2 separate regions of the Homo sapiens genome follow, and region 2 is linked to region 1. The links are contacts of gene promoters, found by promoter capture Hi-C in blood cells and fetal thymus (Javierre and others, 2016). All regions are on one chromosome and are shown on one strand. Each heading gives the region's core, a stretch centred on a gene start or on the middle of the fragment in contact. The rest is flanking DNA. Distances are from core to core; before and after follow the strand shown.

Region 1 (5,705 bases), core at 1,473-3,972:
ATCTAGGAATACCATAGAATCATGATGTTCAAAAGAGTAGAAGTTGACACTAAGGTGATACTGCTTTCATAGGTAAAGGACTGTAAGAATGCATTACCACAAGATGCAAACATATCCCTTAATGTTTTGAGATACGTGCAAGACTGTCAGCAAACAATTATTGTAACTACCAATGTCATCACCATGAGAATGAAGCAGGCACTTGTTCAGTAAGTGCATTGTGATGTTCTCCACTGTAGATTTGTAAAGTGCAGAAAACGTTAGTTGAATCCCCAATGATTTTTATGGACTTATCAAAGTATAAAACATAGCAGATGTAAGAGTACATCACTTTACTTAAAATTAAGATTGTTTTCTGAATATGAGGAACAGTTATTATAGAAAATTTAAAATAGAGAAAAATATAAAGAGGAAAAAATGACCAATAATTTTTATTACATAGCAAAAACTAGTAAAAACATTTTGATGTGCTTCTGTACTACCTTCTATTACATTTACATGTAAATATTTATTTGGTAATTCCGGTTATACTGCATGTAAAACTTTTTATTTTGTTTTTATGCAATATTTTTATGTCGGTTTTATTATAATAGATATTATAGCTAAACACCATTTAAAATATTTGTCAGTATACATTCATATGGATGGTTCACATTTATTTAATCATACTGGTTAACTAACTGGTTACCATTTAGGTGTTTAAATTTTTCACTATTATGAGTGAGATTATAATGAACATCATTATATGTACATATTTTCTGAAGTTTTAGTTATTTCTTTTTGATGCATTTATTTTTACTGATCAAAAGGTATGAACCTTAAGAGTTTCTTTAATCTATTACCAAATTATTTTCTAATGATTACACCAATTTATACATTTACCAGGAATGCAATTAGGTTGCCATTTTACTATATTCTAGATAACGCTCAATATTATCAGTTTTTTAATCTTATTTTCATATACAAAATAAATATAGCTTCATAGGTGTTTCTGAATGGTGTTTCTCTGATTAGTAATAAAATCAAACATTTTTAATTTACTTAAAAATGTTTTTTTCTTTGAGATTTTTCTATTCCTGGGCTTTACCTATTTTCTAGTAATTATTCCTACTCATTTGTATGAGATCTTATAGCAAAGGTACAGAAACTTTATCAAATTTACTGCAGATAATCTCCCAGTTTGACATTTTATTCATAATTTTTTGATACGTAGTTAGACAACCGAATATATTTTTAACTCAGGATTTCTCCAATTGCTTTTAATAACATTAATTTCTTTATGCACATAAGTAGTTTTACTCATAGTATCACTAGTAACATAGGAGGCTTTTTGGTTTTGGTTTGGTTTTTTTGAGACAGGGTCTCGCTGTGTCACCCAGGCTGGAGTGCAGTGATGCTATTATGGCTCACTGCAGCCCCCATCTCTCAGGCTCAATGAATCCTCTCACCTCAGCCTCCCCAGTAGCTGGCACTACAGGAGCATGTCACAATGCCCTGGTAATTTTATATACTTTATTTTTTTTTTTAAGAGACAGGGCCTCATTATGTTGCCCAGGCTGGTCTGGAACTCCTGGATTCAAGTGATGCTCCCTCCTCAGCCTCCTGAAGTGCTGGGATTACAGGCATAAGCCACTGTGCTCACCAGACTTTTTAAATGCAGTGTTTTGTTTTTTCTCCCAGCTTCCATCCATAACACTTTTACTCCCCAACTCCCAGGAATATAAATATCTTATAAATATTCCCTTTTCCCCCAGAGCATCTTATTTTTAAGTGTATATTCCACTAGTATTGGAGATAGTAATTTGCTGAAATAGGCAGATGAAAATAGTATTTTAAAAATATTTTTATTGGGGTAAATTATACACAACATAACTTTTATCATTTTAGTCATATTTAAGTGTACAGTTCAGTAGCATTAAGTGCATTAATATTGTTGTGGAATGATCACCATCATTTATCTCTAGAACATTTTCATCTTCCTAAACAGAAACACTGTACCCATTAAACAATAGCTCCCAGTAGACCCCTTCCCCTGGCAACTACCATTCAACTTTCTGTCTCTGTAAGTTCGACTACTCTAGCTTTCTCATGTAATTGGAATCATACAATATTTGTCCTTTTGTGTCTGGCTTATTTCAATCAGCCTTATGTCCTCAAGGTTAATCCATGTTGTAACATGTATGAGAATTTCAATCCTTTTTAAGACTGAGTAATATTCCACCACAATTTATTTATCCATTCACCTGTCCATGAACATTTGGGTTGTTTTTACGTTTTGGTTATTGAAGGTAATGCTGCTGTTAACATTAGCATACAAAAATAGTCTTTTAAACACATTGTTAACCACTACATATACAAACATTGAAATCGGGAACACTGGTACCAATTACTGACACTTAAATTACGAATCAGCTTTACCTATACTATATGGAGAAGTTCTGTGCTCTCAATATTTCTCTCAAGACCTCAAAAGTCATCCTTGTGCACCCAATCAGATATTTTTTCAAAATATGATAGAAACATGTTCAACCAATAGCCACAAAAGTAGTAGCCTCAGGAGACTCATTCTCGCAGTGAATTGGGCATGCACCAAATTCCAGGCAAGATGAGGAGACATTGTGGAAGATGCTCTCCTTCTTTTAAGCCAAAGAGACGTCAATAATTGTGGCATATTATTAATTAGTGCCTTATTCCTCTACAATTTTTTTCAGAGAGGTCAGGAATGGTTGAAGAAAATCATACCATGAAAAATGAGTTTATCCTCACAGGATTTACAGATCACCCTGAGCTGAAGACTCTGCTGTTTGTGGTGTTCTTTGCCATCTATCTGATCACCGTGGTGGGGAATATTAGTTTGGTGGCACTGATATTTACACACTGTCGGCTTCACACACCAATGTACATCTTTCTGGGAAATCTGGCTCTTGTGGATTCTTGCTGTGCCTGTGCTATTACCCCCAAAATGTTAGAGAACTTCTTTTCTGAGGGCAAAAGGATTTCCCTCTATGAATGTGCAGTACAGTTTTATTTTCTTTGCACTGTGGAAACTGCAGACTGCTTTCTTCTGGCAGCAGTGGCCTATGACCGCTATGTGGCCATCTGCAACCCACTGCAGTACCACATCATGATGTCCAAGAAACTCTGCATTCAGATGACCACAGGCGCCTTCATAGCTGGAAATCTGCATTCCATGATTCATGTAGGGCTTGTATTTAGGTTAGTTTTCTGTGGATTGAATCACATCAACCACTTTTACTGTGATACTCTTCCCTTGTATAGACTCTCCTGTGTTGACCCTTTCATCAATGAACTGGTTCTATTCATCTTCTCAGGTTCAGTTCAAGTCTTTACCATAGGTAGTGTCTTAATATCTTATCTCTATATTCTTCTTACTATTTTCAGAATGAAATCCAAGGAGGGAAGGGCCAAAGCCTTTTCTACTTGTGCATCCCACTTTTCATCAGTTTCATTATTCTATGGATCTATTTTTTTCCTATACATTAGACCAAATTTGCTTGAAGAAGGAGGTAATGATATACCAGCTGCTATTTTATTTACAATAGTAGTTCCCTTACTAAATCCTTTCATTTATAGTCTGAGAAACAAGGAAGTAATAAGTGTCTTAAGAAAAATTCTGCTGAAAATAAAATCTCAAGGAAGTGTGAACAAATGACATCTATCCTAGCTTAATGGTTTAATGCTCAAAAAACTTCTAAATAAAATTACACAGAGGAAGTGTACTAATTGTATACAAAATATTAAAACATATCAAAATACAATCAAATTAAGCAGAAATATGTGACAGGGAAAATTCATGGAAAGGAGTGAACTGTGCTAAATATTTACTCAGAATTTAAAAGCACATGCAGACATTGAATTCACTCAAGCAGCAATGTAGAAAGCCACCATGCCTATAGACTGTGTTAGTATCAATGATGATCAACACCCAAAACAACAGCAAAACTACCAGTTACAAATATAAAAAGCCATACCATTTACAAAGCGGGCTTTGATAACCAGCCCACTCTATAGCTTACAACATGTGCATTACAGTTAAGTGTTTAAGATCATGTGAACAGTCAACCAACGAACTCACTTATATCCATGAGCAACAAAAATGGCAAGTGAATTTTGAGGAAGAAAATGTAATAGCATGTGGGGGACATTATTGTAGTTAGAATGAGGTAGTCAGGAAGTGATTGTGCCAATAAAAGTGAATATTATATTTCCAAATAGAAGTTGTTGTTAAATGATTTAAACATTTAAATAATTAAAATCAGAATGTCAAATTTCAAGATAGGTTACATTAAGTTTTATTTACTCCAAAACCTACATGCATAAAGATACCATATCATAAAGTTCTAGACAAACATTTCAAACTTCATGTAGATCTGAAGAGCCTTCATTGTCAGTGAGTTAGGCTAAACTTCTCTGTGCCCATTCCTGAGAGGTGAGGAAGGGGTTAAACAATGGAGACACAACCTTTGGGTATATTATATACAGACATGTAAAAAAGTGTGATTGTGGGACTGTGGACAGGGCTTATCTCAAATATTTTCTTTTATTCCTTCACCATTGCAAAACTTAAAGTCGTTTAATATGGATAGAACCTAATAATCTTATGTGACATCATTAAAGAGATACTTTCCAATTATTCACTCTACATATATTTATTGAGATTCTGCTATGTGCAAGCACTGTTCTAGATGCTGAGACATATTAATGACCAAGACACCACTCTTTTCATCTTCTTAAATAATAGAACATTGCCATTATTTTAATTACTAACTTCTGGAACAAGGAGGACCCATAACAAGTAACAGAAAAATTCTCCCTTCCACCTCCTCTCTTGATGCTCTGTGGTCACATCTAAATTTCCAGAAGGCAGTTGTCAGATTGCAGTGGGCCTCAAGCTAGCCAGCCACCAGAGGCTGGCATCACATGGAAAATCAGCATGCTGAGTCTATATAGAAAAGGGAGTAGAAAACAGATATATTTCTAGATATAATTCCCTAAATCATGAATGAAAAACTATAAAAATATAGTGTATATTTGTAACCTCCAAGAAAACCTAACCTAGTTCATTCCAATTATACTCAGACATTTCAGTATTTCCTTGCCTGTTTCAAATTTAAACCCCATCAGTTGAGTTTTTGCCTAATGCACGTCCATCAGCATCACCAAATGTACTTGGATACTTACTATGCGTCCATGTGCTAAGCTGTGTATACACATTACCTCATCCAACCCTCATAAATCCTGTGAAAGAATTGCAATTATTATCCCTTGTGACAGGTGAGAATATGAAGCACAGTATGGTTGAGTCACTTGTTCAGTGACCCACAGGAGTCTGCATGACCTGAACCCCAGGCTGCCTGACTACAAAAACTACATTCTCAATTATTACATAAGAAATCACAAAAGGTCACCCAGAGATTGCACAGAATCGTTTATCCCACGCAATGCAGAACAGCATAGTGTTCTTTGGAAAATTAATTTTAAGAAATTTAAATATCAGGAGAATTTTTATTTAAAATTTTTATTAAAAATTTTTATAAAAGCAAAAATTGACTTTTCTTGAAAAAGTGGCAACAATTCTTATGTCACCTCCCTGGCCCCTCTGAACATTTAAATTTATAACTTTGCATCTTTGCATTAAAAACTACTGCCTCTCATCATACTTCATTATTTCAGTGCTTACTTAC
Region 2 (4,478 bases), core at 1,328-3,827, 91 kb after region 1:
ATTTTTTGTATTTATAGTAGAGACGGGGTTTCACTGTGTTAACCAGGGTGGTCTCGATCTCCTGACCTCGTGATCTGCCTGCCTCGGCCTCCCAAAGTGCTGGGATTACAGGCGTGAGCCACCATGCCTGGCTGCTTATCCTCTTATTTTCAAGGCGAACAGGCAATTTCACACAAGTCTCTGTAAAGGATGTGAAACTCTAAGAACTTTAGTGAAAAGAGAAACAGTCCAATATCGATAGTGTATTTCTTGGAATAAGCTGCTGCCTTCGGAAGCACTGCTGCTTTTGTAGGAGGCAGGAGGACAGGAATCTTCCACTAACAATGACACCAACCATGGTGCAAATCCAAGCTCTCTTGAGTGAGTTCTTTATTCACCAAAGGAAGGTACTATAAACAATCTCTCAGGTCTCTTTCAGAAATAAAATTTGATGGTTCTATAGCATGAAAGACAGGGAAAAGTTGGTGGAAAAAAAGGTTCAGATGATATCTTTTATTATTTCATATGTCATATCAGACATATGAAAGTTTACCCTGTGAGGCAGCACATAAAACTATTAATCTGTTCTTGAGTCTTTTCCCCTCTATGACTACTAGAACAGGTTTCCTAAGAAGCCATTTCCTGGGCCGGACGCGGTGGCTGACGCCTGTAATCCCAGCACTTTGGGAGGCCGAGGCAGGCGGATCACGAGGTCAGGAGATCGAGACCATCCTGGCTAACACGGTGAAACCCCGTCTCCACTAAAAATACAAAAAATTAGCCAGGCGTGGTGGTGGGCACCTGTAGTCCCAGCTACTCGGGAGGCTGAGGCAGGAGAATGGCGTGAACCCGGAAGGCAGAGCTTGCAGTGAGCCGAGATCGCACCACTGCACTCCAGCCTGGGCGACAGAGTGAGACTCCATCTCAAAAAACAAACAAACAAACAAACAAACAAACAAAAAAGAAGCCATTTCCTAACTGTTAAACTTGTAAAATAGTTTATATCCTAAAAGTAGTTCTTTTGATAATCTCTGCATAAGGGTCCTTAAATAGAAAAACATGCTCAAACAAAAACTAAAAGCTATTTAAAAGGTTACCTTAAATACAGCTTCAATTGCTTAAACAACAACAACAAAAAACAACAGATGCAAATCCCTAGAACTGACGCATAGGTAGAATTCACCTTAATCGTGACTTGTTGGCCTTCTTTATATGCACATTTTATTAACATAGTCTAAAAAAGTATATCCTGAGTAAAGTTGTAAAGTCAGTTTTTAACCCAAATCATACTATTTCAAAATCTCTCTTTAAAACATTACAAAATTAAGTGATCTACTTATTTCCTAGTCAGTGTTCTGCTGCTTACAACAGAATAGCTGAAACTGCATAATTTATAAATAAAAGGAACTTATTTCTTAAGTTATGGAAGCTGAGAAGTCCAAGGTTGAGGGGCTTCATCTAGTATGAGTGTTCTTGCCGGTGGGGTCTCTGCAGAGTCCTGAGGCAGTGCACAACATCACATGGTGGGGGGCTGAACGTGCTAGCTTAGGTCTCTTCTTATAAAGCCACCAGTCCCACTCCCATGAATTTAACCCATTAATGCATGAATGGATTAATCCATCCATCAGGGCTCTGCCCAATCACCTCTTAAAGGCCCCAGCTCTTAATACTGCCAGATTGGGGGTTAAATTTCGACATGAGTTTTGGAGGGAACAAATATTCAAACCAAAGCATTTATACTAAAAACTTCTTTTTAACTAGCTACCATCCTAGATATTTTATTACCTAACACTGCTTAAAGTCATCTCAGTAATAGCTAGAAAAAGGAACCAAAAAAGAGAACTGTCTACTCTATTAGTCCTCCTGGAAGGATGCTAAGTTCTGAGAGAGAGGAAAAAACAAACAAAAAACCAGTATCTGCATGCATCCATGGCTGTGTAGTTTTCAGTAGTAATATTAAATCAAGAGAATATTCAAATGTTTCATCTTTCCTGACGATTTTAAAGCTGAACTCCATACTCTTGCATAAATATTAACATTCCACAACTATTAGCTCTAAAAACAAAGCAAAAAGACAAAAATTCTTTGTCCTTCCTTTTTCAAGAATGCCAATTGGCTCTAAGCAGAATTGAGTACTTTACTCATATTCCAAACAATTTGTGCCAAGATTCCATTTGATGATAACAAATATTCTGGGTCTTCTCCCAACTTTTGTTTGTTTTCTTATTTTATCATTAGAATTTCTTTAACAAATTCTCCAATTCTTCTTTCCCCTTGGCCAAAATCTCTGGTATGTTGGCATCTCCCTCTAGTGGTTCTCCAACCCTTCCAATGCCCTTAGACATTCCCAAGTCAACATCAGGAATAATAATTCTCATCTGGAATAAGAATTTAACAACCCACTCCAGATTAAAAAGCCTCTCATTCTCAAGCATAGATGACCTTATAGTTTATAGTCTACCATTCTAAATCATTTGGAATAAAAAGATATTACTACTCAATTTATATTAAATATTTCTAAGTAAATAATTTAATACAACCACTTAAAACCAGTATTCTAATTCTTCTGATGAGCAAAGTAAGAAAACTAGTTCCATTTTCATAAGCAGAAGAGGGTATTTAGTGACATAATAGTTGCCTTCAGAAGGAACAGAATGTAATTTTGGGGTCATGAAAGTTCAGTAACTTTACCTACCATTTTTTAAATTTGGGGTAGAGATCTGGACCATGCTGGTCACAAGCCTCCTTCAGAGTTCTGTGAAAATGGACAGCGTCTTCTTGATTCAAGTATGTTGGAGTGAGGTCACATCCACCACCAAACCACCACTGCTTGTTGCCTACCAAATCAAGACATGGGATTCTAATGTGGACTTTTGAGATTCAGCATTACTGGCTATATTAGGACACTTAATTTAGCAGCTTAATTTTTTCAGCATAAAATGGATGACAATAAAAAAAATTTTAACTGATTTTAGCTCTGAAGACCAGTAAGGCCTAGGCAGAAAAAAAGAGGTAAAAGCGGCCAGGCGAGGTGGCTCATGCCTGTAATCCCAGCACTTTGGGAGGCCCAGGCAGGCAGATCGCCTGAGGTCAGGAGTTCGAGACCAGCCTGGCCAATATATGGTGAAACCTCGTTGCTACTAAAAATACAAAACATAGCCGGGTGTGGTGGTCACCTATAATCCCAGCTACTCGGGAGGCTGAGGCAGGAGAATCACTTGAACCCAGGAGGTGGAGGTTGCAGTGAGCTGAGATAGCGCCACTGCACTCCAGCCTGGGCAACAAGAGTGAGACTCCATCTCAAAAAACAAAATAAAACAAAACAAAACAACAAGAAAAAAGAAGAAAGAAAGAAAGACAGTGGAACTTGCAAGGAATGATATGCAGGGCAGTGAATGATAAAACAGTACACTGGTGGATCAGGAAGTGGATTGCAACTCTGGCTGTATATAAGAATCACATGACGAGCTTAAAATAGCTCTTCTAGATCACAATAAACACACACACACACACACACATCTCTGGCCCAGGAATCTGTAGTTTATAAAACTCCCCAGGAGATTCTGACACTCCTTGTATTAAGAACCATTGCCAACCCCTCCCCTTTCCTAGAAAGAGTAAAAACACTTGCTGAGGTAACTTACCACTTGAGAATAACTGTTTCATGTGCTCACAGGTCCATGAGTTGTCAATACCAGTTACCAACTTTAAACATAAAAGGTTGAACCAAGCTGAATGGCTTCAAAATGAAAAGTTAAAGCAGTGACTTTAAATGCCATCACCTACAGAGACACCAATAAGAATAGGTGTGGCACTGCACATGTACTCTGACATCTAGTATCAGATAAAAGACAGGCTGGAACTATGTGCACAGGAGGCATGATCAACTGCATCCCATTTTAAACCCACTGCTAATGCCCTGGTGACTAGCAAAGCTATGCATATGTAAAATATTTTCCAAAAGCAAGTTCTCAATTTCAATTTAACCTCGTACATAAGGTATTCCTTCAGATGTAATGAATTTATGTTTGCAAAGAACTCTGGGTGCACACTAAAGTTCAGGTTCATTCCTTCTATGTTGGAGGAAATATGGGAAGGTTAGAGTCAGTCAATACCATTCTTTTTGTTTTGTTTTGTTTTGTTTTTTTGAGACGGAGTCTCGCTCTGTCACCCAGGCTGGAGTGCAGTGGCACAATCTCCGCTCACTGCAACCTCCGCCTCCCAGGTTCAAGTGATTCTTCCACCTCAGCTGCCCGAATAGCTGGGACTACAGGTGCGTGCCAGCACGCCCAGCTAAGTTTTTGTATTTTTAGTAGAGAGGAGATTTCACCATGTTGGCCAGGCTGGTCTCAAACTCCTAACCTCAGGTGATCTGCCCACCTCAGCCTCCCAAAGTGCTGGGATTACAGGTATGAGCCACCAAGCCTGGCCCCATTCTTACTTGTCATGTCTCAGGCATAATCCATTGCACTTGCCAAGAAATTGCCTTTACATTGCCT

What was found. Contacts are between HindIII fragments. The CHiCAGO score rates a contact against its expected background, and 5 or more counts as called.
Region 2: a contact is called between a fragment that was not itself captured here and the fragment with the promoter of OR5K2 in region 1, in 4 of 17 cell types (non-activated CD4 T cells, total CD4 T cells, total CD8 T cells and 1 more). The highest score is 5.8, in non-activated CD4 T cells.

What each region holds. Positions count from the first base shown.
Region 1 is chr3:98,494,959-98,500,663 of GRCh38, forward strand. OR5K2 (olfactory receptor family 5 subfamily K member 2) reads left to right here and starts at 2,723. Exons shown (of 1, transcript NM_001004737.1): 1 at 2,723-3,673. The coding sequence starts at 2,723. The coding sequence ends at 3,673. The HindIII fragment of the contact is 17,047 bases long and covers 1-5,705 here.
Region 2 is chr3:98,586,039-98,590,516 of GRCh38, forward strand. CPOX (coproporphyrinogen oxidase) reads right to left here. Exons shown (of 7, transcript NM_000097.7): 4 at 2,675-2,816. Among named protein-coding and RNA genes, the nearest start is that of CPOX, 5.3 kb to the right of the region's middle. The HindIII fragment of the contact is 8,070 bases long and covers 1-4,478 here.